2 separate regions of the Homo sapiens genome follow, and region 2 is linked to region 1. The links are contacts of gene promoters, found by promoter capture Hi-C in blood cells and fetal thymus (Javierre and others, 2016). All regions are on one chromosome and are shown on one strand. Each heading gives the region's core, a stretch centred on a gene start or on the middle of the fragment in contact. The rest is flanking DNA. Distances are from core to core; before and after follow the strand shown. Region 1 holds the start of RWDD2B (RWD domain containing 2B). Region 2 holds the start of BTG3 (BTG anti-proliferation factor 3).

Region 1 (5,317 bases), core at 21-2,520:
GTTGTGACAACCCAAAATGTCTTCAGACACTGCTAAATAGAGGGGAAATCCATCCTTCCCCTTCTCTTGAGGTCTGCTCCACTGTAAAATTCTCTCGACTTCGCTTTACACTTGAATTTTTTCATAATAAATGTTGGAGGAAAAAATAAATTATGACATTGAAAAACGCTCATGAAACACTATGCAGAAGACGTAGTTTATGAAGACCTACAATACATACTGTCGTATTTTTGTTTAAAAAAAAAAAGTGGAGGGGAGACCTAGCAGTGATATTTAGTATTGCTAAATGTCAATGTTTACAAATCTTATCTATGACATTTCTAAAATGAATATTATAAAGTGTATTGCATATAGTTGGATTGGGAAGAAAAACATTTCTAATTATTCTCCTGTCAGCATCTCCTTCAAACTACCCTTTTATTAACAGGGATAGATATGCATTCACACGGTTCCTCCCAGCTTGGTTAATGGGCAAGAACACCTAAGATAGCCAAGGCCACCATGCATCCAGGCTCACATCTCCCTAATTGCCCTCCTCCATGATTCAGGGACAAGGAGGATCACCATCGTGTGGGAAGATACTAGAAATGTAGAATTTGGAACCCCACCCCTACCTACGGAATCCTGATCTGCACTTCAACAGGATCCCCGAACTATTCCTAGGCGCGTTCGAATTTGAGGAACATTAACGGACCAATTCTTTGTCCCTGAAAAGTGCCCGTTATAGAGGCGGCCGCTGGGAAATGACAACGGGGTTGGCATGGAGAGGTATTAAGTAGAAAAACTCCGGCCGGGCACGGTGGCTCAGGCCTGTAATCCCAGCACTGTGGGAGGCCGAGGCCGGTGGATCACCTGAGGTCAGGAGTTCGAGACCAGCCTGGCCAACATGGTGAAACCCCATTTCTACTGAAAAATACAAAAATTATCTGGGCATGGTGGTGGGCGCCTGTAATCCCAGCTACTCGGGAGGCTGAGGCAGGAGAATCGCTTGAACCCAGGAGGCGGAGGCTGCAGTGAGCCGAGATCGCGCCACTGCACTCCAGCTTGAGAGACACAGCGAGACTCCGTCTCAAAAAAAAAAAAAAGGAAGAAAGAAAGAAGAAGAAGAGAACTCTGCGACTGAAAAGTACCTAGCAGGGACAACGCATTCCCTACGTCCTTCCAAGTGCAGACACCAACACCGGCGGACGCGGCTCCCAACAGGCGAGCCCCAGCTTCCGGTCCGCGGCCTTGGACGCGCATGCGCCGCATGCTTTTTTTTTTTTTTTCCGGTAGGTCGCCAGCTGAGGCGGTTTGTAAGTTTTGGGTCGCAGTATGCTAGAATTTTGAGGCTCCCTTCTGATGAAAATTGAGCTGTCCATGCAGCCATGGAACCCGGGTTACAGCAGTGAGGGGGCCACGGCTCAAGGTGAGTCTCGCCTCAGCTAGCGCCAGTGGTGACCGCCACGGGGGTTTCCCACGCTGCAGCGCCCAGTGCAACCCTTTGGGAACGTGCCCGGCATGGCGGCCCCGGTTCCCCTCACTGCATGCGCCCATCGGTCGGCTCGGTCCTCGGCGTTGCTTCCCGGCTTCTGCAGCCCTGCTCCAGCCGGGGACCTCGCCCCGGGGGCAATCAGGGTGCGAGGGCGGCTGCGTGCTGGGCTTTCTTCCTGAGAGCGTCTTGGCTTGGGTCGCGGGGTACCCTGCTCTGTTCTTCAAAAAAAAATCTGCAAGGAAAAGATATTATTCCACTCAGAAATCTCAAGTTTCAGTCTGCGTTCTCTTAAATATATTTTATTTTTTAAAAAAATAATAAAGGCGAGCTCTTACTATGTTACCCAGGCTGATCTTGAACTCCTGGGCTCAAGCAGTCCCCCTTCCTCTGCCTCCCAAAGTGCTGGGATTACAGGCGTGAGCAATCGCGCCCGGCCACAGTCTATTATCTTACAGCATTCGCTGAAATCTTGAATCATAAAATTATCTTGAGGGTTTTTTGGAAGGACTGAAATCTCTTAAGCGAAAATAATTTGGCAGATAAATGACCTGTGACATCACTCCCGTAGTTGTCCGTTCAAGAGTCCCTCCGTCCCGTTCTTCTTTGCTAATCCCATTTCATCTTCGATACCTCCAATTCAATAGCACCCTCTCCCAACTTTACTCACTCCCTGGGAGACTTTAAACAAATATATAGTTCCAAATAAGTGTTGACTCCCAAGATTATATATCTAGCTGAGTCTCTCGTAGACTTCAAAACTATACATCTAACTGCCTGCTAGACCTCTCTATTTAACAGGTGTCTTAGTAGGCACTTCATTACTTGTGTCTAAAACCAAGCTTCAGCTCCCCATGACCATCAACGTCTAAATAAATGGCAGATCCATACTTTCAGTACCTTAAAGCCCCGGAGTCATTCTTCCGTGTCTCATGTAATTCATCTGTAAATCCTGTTGCCTCTGTTCTCTGCATGTATCCAGAACCTGAAGCTCACCAACTTGACCACTATAATCCTATCAAAGCCACCATCATCTCTCCCTAGTTATTGCGGTGTCTATATCTGGTCACCCCACTTTTCCTTTCACTTTTCTCCATAGCAGCAAGTGTGGGGATCTTCATAAGTCAAACCTCTCTTGTAGCTCTTACATGTCAGTCGGGATAAAATTCAAAATTCTGGCCATGCTTTACTAGTCCCAACATAAACTGCCCCACATTTCCTTACTAAACTCTTCTATTCCCCGTGTCCTCAGCTCACTGTGCTCTGGCCAGCTGTTCTAGCACCCTCCTTCCTCAAGGCCTTTGAATATGCTGTTCGCTTTCCCTTGAACACTCTTGGCCAAGAAAAACACATGGCCTCCTTTTTCAGTTCCTTAAAGTCTCTTCCCTACAGTCACCTTAGGAGAAAGGCCTTTCCTGACAATGCTGTGTGCAGTCTCACCCCTGCTGCCTCATTGTTTCCCTTATCCTTGTTTTCTTTTTCAGGTTTCTTCATAGCAGTTATTCACTGGGTACAAAAATTCTTTTTTGTTTTTTTTTGAGACAGTCTTGCTCTGTTGCTCTGGCTGGAGTGCAGAGGTATGATCTTAGCTCACTGCAACCTCCGCCTCCCCAGTTCAAGCGATTCTCCTGCCTCAGCCTCCCTAGTAGCTGGGACTACAGGCGTGGGCGACCACACCTGGCTAATTTTTGTATTTTTAGTAGAGATGGGGTTTCATCATGTTGGCCAGGCTGGTCTCAAACTCCTGACCTTAGGTGATCCGCCCACCTCATCCTCCCAAAGTGCTGGGATTACAGGCGTGAGCCACCACCGCACCTGGGCTGGGCGTATAAATTTGTTTTTGATGTCATGGTATCCTCCCACCAGTAGAGTTGTTTTATTACTTTCATTCATTGTTATCTTAGTGCCAGTGCTTGAACGTAAGTGCTTGAGAAACATTTGTTGAAATGATGACCAATAATAATAATAGTAATAAGCAGCCGGACACGGTGGCTCATGCCTGTAATCCCAGCACTTTGGGAGCCCAGGGCGGGTGGATCATGACGGCAGGAGTTCGAGACCAGCCTGGCCAACGTGGTGAAACCCCGTCTCTACTAAAAAACCCAGAAAGCAGAGGTTGTAGTGAGCCGACTCTGCACTCTGGCCTGGGTGACAGAGCTAGACCCTGTCTCAAAAAAAAAGGTTTTTTTAATTAATAATAATAGTAGCAAGCACGCATATAAAATTTACTGTTGCCAGGCACTTTCCACAAATTCTCATCTAATCATCACAGCAACCCTCTCATCCCAGTTATGGAGTTGGGGAGACTAAAGCACAGATAAATTAAGCCACTTGCCTAAGGTCCTGCAGTTGGTAAGTGGCAGAGCCAGGAGTCGCACCTTGGCAATCTGGTAATAGAATCCAAAAACACTGGTAACAGAGCCACGCCAACAAAAAAACAAAGTAAACCATTTCCTCTAATAACCACCCAAGTAGTTGTTTTTTATGTTTCTCAACTCCAAAACAGACCAGCAAATATGTATATGGAATTCCAATAAGTCCAGGGATTTTAAGTATGTATGAGGATTTTGTTTAAAAAAAAAAAGGCCGGGAGCAGTGGCTCATGCCTGTAATCCCAGCACTCTGGGAGGCCAAGGCGGGTGAATCACCTGAGGTCGGGAGTTTGAGACTAGCCCAACTGACATGGTGTAACTCCATCTCTACTAAATACAAAAAATTAGCTGGGTGTGGTGGCGCATGCCTGTAATCCTAGCTACTTGGGAGGCTGAGGCAGGAGAATCGCTTGAACCTGGGAGGTGGAGATTGCAGTGAGCCGAGATTGCACCATTTCACTCCAGCCTGGGCAACAAGAGCGAAACTCCGTCTCAAAAAAATAAATAAATAAAAAATCGGAAAAAAAACAAAAGAAAACATTGCGATTAAAGGAGGGAGGAATATTTGCAGTTCCAACAGTTATTAGAAGAGGAAAACTTCAAATTAAACATGAATAGACATATTAATAAATATATGTTAATATATGTATAAATATTATCAAGGCTACCCACCATCTTTTATGATACTTTAAATGCTTATATTTAAACTACTTAAATTCAGGTAACTACATGGCAAAATAAGGAATCCTGCTCTGTTCTGTGGAGAGGAGGGCTAATGTCATTTGGCCTGGAAAAACATGTTCTGGAGTCAGACAGAATACTGAACACCCCTCTTGGAAATTCACAGTTTAAGACTCTGAGAAGTCACAAATAAGAATTGTGCCCATATAGTCTCTCGCCTAATTAGGATTGCTTTTGTCTAGGATAAATACCTAAACCATATGGGGCTGGGCATGGTGGCTCACGCCTGTAATCCCAGCACTTTGGAAGGCCAGGGTAGGTAGATCACCTGAGGTCAGGAGTTTGAGACCAGCCTGGCCAACATGATAAAACCCTTTCTCTACTAAAAATACAAAAAATTAGCTGGGCGTGGTGGCGAACACCTGTAATCCCAGCTATTCGGGAGGCTGAGGCAAGAGAATCACTTGAACCCAGGAGGCGGAGGTTGTGGTGAGCCAAGATTGTGCCATTGCACTCCAGCCTGGGCAACAAGAGCAAAACTCCATCTCAAAAAAAAAAAAAAAAAAGACTAGGTGTGGCGGCTCACACCTGTAATCACAGCACTTTGGGAGGCCAACGCGGGTGGATCACAAGGTCAGGATTTCGAGACCAGCCTGCCCAACATGGTGAAACCCCATCTCTACTAAAAATACAAAAATTAGCTGGGCGTAGTGGTGTGCGCCTGTAATCCCAGCTACGCAGGAGGCTGAGGCAGGAGAATTGCTTGAACCTGGGAGGTGGAGGTTGCAATAAG
Region 2 (4,975 bases), core at 2,356-4,855, about 11 Mb after region 1:
AAATTAGCCGTGCATGGTGGTGGGCACCTGTAGTCCCAGCTACTCAGGAGGCTGAGGCAGGAGAATGGCGTGAACCTGGCAGGCGGAGCTTGCAGTGAGCCGAGATTGCACCACTGCACTCCAGCCTGGGCAACAGAGAAAGACTCTGTCTCAAAAAAAAAAAAAAAAAAGACTTTTGTATTCAGATTCAAACTTGACAAGTGAATTGAGAAGATGGTACCCAAGACTGTTTTTTTTTCCTTCTTTTCTTTTTTAGATAGTGTCTTGCTCTGTTGCTCAGGCTGGAGTGCAGAGCACGATGATCTCAGTTCACTGCAACCTCCACCTCCCAGGTTCAAGCCATTCTCCTGCCTCAGCCTCCTGAGCAGCTGGGATTACAGGAGCATGCCACCACACCTGGCTAATTTTTGTATTTTTAGTAGAGATGGGGTTTCACCATGTTGGCCAGGCTGGTCTCAAACTCCTGACCTCAGGTGATCCACCTGCCTCAGCCTCCCAAAGTTCTGGGATTACAGGCGTGAGCCACCACGACCCGCCGACTGTTTTGCTTTTAATGCTGAACTCTTGAGTTCAAAGGATTTTAAAGACTCACATATTTAGTGAAAATAAGTCCTAATTTTGAAAGCTATTTCACAGATTTTGTTGATTCTAAGTTGCATTCTCTGCAACTCTGAGACACAACCACAGGATGTGTGTGATGATTCCTGTGATTATAAAGCCCTAGACATATTAGAGTGGCTCATTTTCATAAGAAACCACTTGTGCTAAAAGCAAACTACACCATTAACACACAATAGAAGTGAATATCTTAAAGTTAGCTGTGAAATGGAAATACATATTAATGAGTATAGTAGTTCCCTCTTATCCCTGGTTTCATTTTCACCAGTTTTAGTTACCAGTGGTACAGTACAATAAGATATTTTGAGAGAGAGCGAGCATACATTCACATAACTTTTATTACAGTGTACTATAATAATTGTTCTGTTATTATAATTATTGTTAATCTCTTACTGTTCCTAATTTATAAATTATACATAGGGTTTGGTACCATGTGCAGTTTCAGACATCCACTGGGGATCCTGGAACATATCCTACCGTGGATAAGGGGGAACTACTGTAATTATTTACATCAGCTCTGCTCCTGTCTTATTCCAGGATGCTATAACAGAATACTATAGACTGTGTGGCTTAAACAACAGAAATTTCTCACAGTTTGGAGGTAGGGAAGTTAAAGATCAAGGTACCAGCAGATCCAGTGTCTGGTGAAGGTATGCTTTCTGGTTTGCTGTCTTCTCCCTATATCCTCACTTGGCAAGAGAGCAGACAGAGTGATCATCTCTCTCATGTTTCCACTTACAAGGGCACTAATTCCATTCATGAAGGTTCCACCCTCATGACCTAAGTGTCTCCCAAAGGCCCCACCTCCAAATACCATCACATTGGGGATTTAGTCTCCAACATACGAATATTGCGAGGGACACAAACATTTAGTTTATAGCAGCTCTCCTCTTTCAGTCCCATAAAGAGGAGGGCTCTGCCTTGCCATACCAATTCATTTGTGATTTTGTGATTCCAACTCACAAGGAAAGAGAGCTGGGGCAAAGCATCTGAAGCACACAAGAGTAGGGCAAGTTTTGAAAGAGACATAAAAACAAATACTGTGTGTGCAAGGGAAGTGGATGAGAGAAAAAGTGTTTAAGAGACATTGTTTGCTATGTGTCTATTTCACAGTGTTCAGCTATGAGAATTTTTTTTTCTTTTTTTAGACAGAGTCTTGCTCTGTCACCCAGGCTGGAGTGCCATGATGTTATCATAGCTCACTGCAGCCTCAATTTCCTGGGCTCAGGTGATCCTCTCACCCCAGCCTTCAGAGTATCTGAGACTACAGCTGCATGCAACCACACCTGGCTAATTTGTGTATTTTTTGTAGAGATTGGGTTTCATGATGTTGGCCAGGTTGGTCTTGAACTCCTGGAGTCAAATGATCCTCTCTCCTTGACCTCCCAAAGTACTGGATTACAGGCATGAGCTACAGTGCCCAGCCTGAGAATTTTTTAAAAGTCATTTTGAAATTGGGTTTCAGGTTCTTGCCTGTATTTTTTGAATATGGTACTGCTCTAAGACTGGAAAATGTGGACCACAGATTTATAAATACTACACAAAATACTAATCCTAAACTATAGAAATTTCTGGACAAATTTTGAGTAATGTGGGTGGTTACCTAGCTATTTTATGAAACTGCAGAATTAAAGGCCTTTATCTGTAAAAATAACCTCATCAGATTGTTATGATTTTAAAATAAAAACACCTTCACACCTCCTAGAAGACTCCAAGGTGTAAATATCCTCTTTAAATGTACCAGTAAGTAGACTAAGTCCTAGAAGAGTATAATTTTTTTTTTTTACAAATAAAGTTTATTGTACTGTTTGGGGGATGGTATATTTATTACTGCTAAAAAAATTACCATTTTGAATTGCTAATTGGCTATAACAAAGATCAGTAATACAAATTTAAAACATTCATAAAACTGAGCTGAAAACATGCTCCCAAGCCTAGTGGGCAGTAAGGAATCTGGCCAATATACTGTACAACTTGAACATTCAGTTCTTAAGTAGTTTACAACATGGTTTAGCCCTCTTTTAATAATAATAATAAAAAGGTAGGAATATCTTGTATTCCTCCCGCTAGTTGGATGTATTAAAGTGCTTTCACAAAACTAAGACCATGGTGTTAACTCAATATAAAAGGTTGAAAAGATGTTCCTTCTTTTCTTCAGAAAGTTAATGTTCCCTCTCCATATTTGTATTTGCTCAAAGATGAAGCTTTGCATCTGGGAAGTCCTTGAGTAGAGTGTCTCAGAAATAGAAAGCCTGGACTCTCAAGGCTTCATTCCTTTGGCCAACATCTTTGGAGCCTCTCCTTTATGCAAAACACAGTGGCCGGTGCCAGGGCAGCACACAAGCGTCCACAGGAGGCAGGCCCTGCTGTGAGGGGCCAGGGAAGGGCCCAACTAGGAGTGCCAACAACCGCCTAAAATACAGCAGGGCGGCTGCACGGTTAACGTGCGTGTAATTGACTACAGCAAGAAGGATGAGGATCTGTCCATAAATGCCAAGTTCCCCTTCCCGTCGAGTCCGTGTCCCCCATGAAGCCCCGGGTCTAGAGAGCTGGGTCTAGAACTCGCCATTCCGCCCTGAGGGTGTCAAGTGCAGCGTGGAGAGACCTGAGGGGGAAACAAAAAGGCCGAGACAGCCGAAAGGACCAAGCCCGCGCGACCCCCGAAGGCGCTGACGCACGTAGGGCGGCCGGGCGGGGGTCCCACAGGCCTTCAGCGCCGCTTTTTGCCGGGGAGGGAAGCCCGCGGTTCTGCGGACCGCGCCGTCGCGGTCGAGGGTCTGCGCCAGGCTCAGGGTAGGGCGAGGGTGTGTCGCCTCCCGTGCGGCTAGGCCCGGGGCTCGGGGGTGGCCTCGCGGCGAAGCCCCGCCCCCGGCACCGCCCCTCAGGCGCGCGAGCCGATCCCGCGCGCGCCAACCCTTTCCCGGGTCATCGCCCCTCCCCTCTTCCGGGCCGCGAGCCCCCTGCGCGCCGCTTTGGGGCTGCGCTCACTCGTGTGCGCGCTCGTCCGCCCGCCAGTCCTCTCAACGCGCGCTTGGCCGCCCGACGACGCGGGAGCCGCACGCGCCGGACGAGGCTCGCTGCGCTCCCTGTTGCCCAGCGCGGGCCCGTTGAGGCGGAGCCCTCAGTTCCCGGCCAGGACACGGTCTGGGCCGCCGAATCTCCGGCCGAAGAGCGGCGGCGGCAGCGGCGGTGAGGAGACCGGGCCGGGGAAAGGCAGACATGGCGGGGCTGTGGGTATCGGGGGAGGGTGGTCCCGTCGCCCCTGCGGCCACGTCGAAGGCTCGCTGGCGGGCGGCGCACCGGGGACAGGGGAGGGGCAGGGGATGGAACCAGGTTGCATGGGCTCCGGCTCGGCGCCAGAGCGGGGCTGCGGGCCGCGAGGGCGGCCCGCGAGGCTTTCCGCGGGACCCTCGGCGGGCGCCTGAGGAAAAAGACGCCGCCTCAGGGCTCCTGCCACGTTTCCCACAGCGCGTTACATTCCGCCTCCGGGTGGGCGACAACCCCGCGGCTTCCCACCCTCTGTCCACCCCCTTCGCGTCGGTGTTTTTTCTGGAGCTCCGCTTGTTTGCTGGAGAGTCGCGCCTCCGGGAAGCCGGGTCCTCGAACCCAGGGCCGCCCGCCGGGGACAGCGGACCCGCGGGGCAGGCGCACCCTGGCGAGGATGTTGTCGGGGAGGCTGGGCATTGGGCGCCAGGGCCCTTCCCCTTGAACTTGGGGAAAACCGGGATTGCAGAAGTTGGGCGCAGCTCAAGGCGGTTCTTTCAAGAGCGGGTGGAGATGTTTGATCCCTCCTCACCTACCTCTCTCAAAACCCCAGCGGGAGAGCCTAGCAGCAGGTTTCGATGGCTTCAGAAAGTCCAACTCTTAGCCCCTTGGAAAATTATTTCCCCTCTTCATGGCTTTGTGGCGCCGCTGAGGTCGGGCCGGGGCTCCTCACCCCACGGGCCAGTCTTCTCGCGCCCTCCACCTTGGGAACGTCTATCAGGAGAAAAATGTGTTCCTAGAAACGTTTGCGATTAGCTTTTCGTTACAAGGGAGGGAAAAGTACAAAAGTTATAAACTCCTGCGAGGCCGAGCTTGATTCTGGATTCCCTTTGGGTTTTATCCACGCAGCCGTGAGCAGAGGAGCCTTGTGGAACAAAGTAGAACTTGAGGAGCAGCCGCCGCGGTGACGAGGTCCCAGGATGACGTCACCGTGCGATATTTAAAATGGGAGCCTTTTGCTCTGAGTGTGGGTGGAGGACGCCTACTTACTCAAGACGCCTGAGGTCTTCTTGGCCCTGCTTGCCTCTGGTGGTTCTTGCCCTGACTGTAACTCTCCCTCTTTCACCTTTTGGTACTCCTAGAATACTGGTGG

The links. The method cuts DNA at HindIII sites, captures the fragments that hold promoters and counts their contacts. A CHiCAGO score of 5 or more calls a contact.
Region 2: a contact is called between the fragment with the promoter of BTG3 here and the fragment with the promoter of RWDD2B in region 1, in 1 of 17 cell types (fetal thymus). The highest score is 6.0, in fetal thymus.

The regions. Positions count from the first base shown.
Region 1 is chr21:29,015,302-29,020,618 of GRCh38, reverse strand. RWDD2B (RWD domain containing 2B) reads left to right here and starts at 1,270. Exons shown (of 5, transcript NM_016940.3): 1 at 1,270-1,408. The coding sequence starts at 1,342. It overlaps LOC124905005 (a long non-coding RNA gene), which reads right to left and starts at 3,033. Exons shown (of 2, transcript XR_007067836.1): 1 at 2,372-3,033; 2 at 1-1,706. RefSeq lists an enhancer at 1,180-1,429. The HindIII fragment of the contact is 4,408 bases long and covers 1-2,315 here.
Region 2 is chr21:17,611,531-17,616,505 of GRCh38, reverse strand. It overlaps BTG3 (BTG anti-proliferation factor 3), which reads left to right and starts at 3,605. Exons shown (of 5, transcript NM_006806.5): 1 at 3,605-3,807. It overlaps BTG3-AS1 (BTG3 antisense RNA 1), which reads right to left and starts at 4,820. Exons shown (of 1, transcript NR_149073.1): 1 at 2,392-4,820. It also overlaps a transcript of CXADR not described here. The HindIII fragment of the contact is 7,083 bases long and covers 2,825-4,975 here.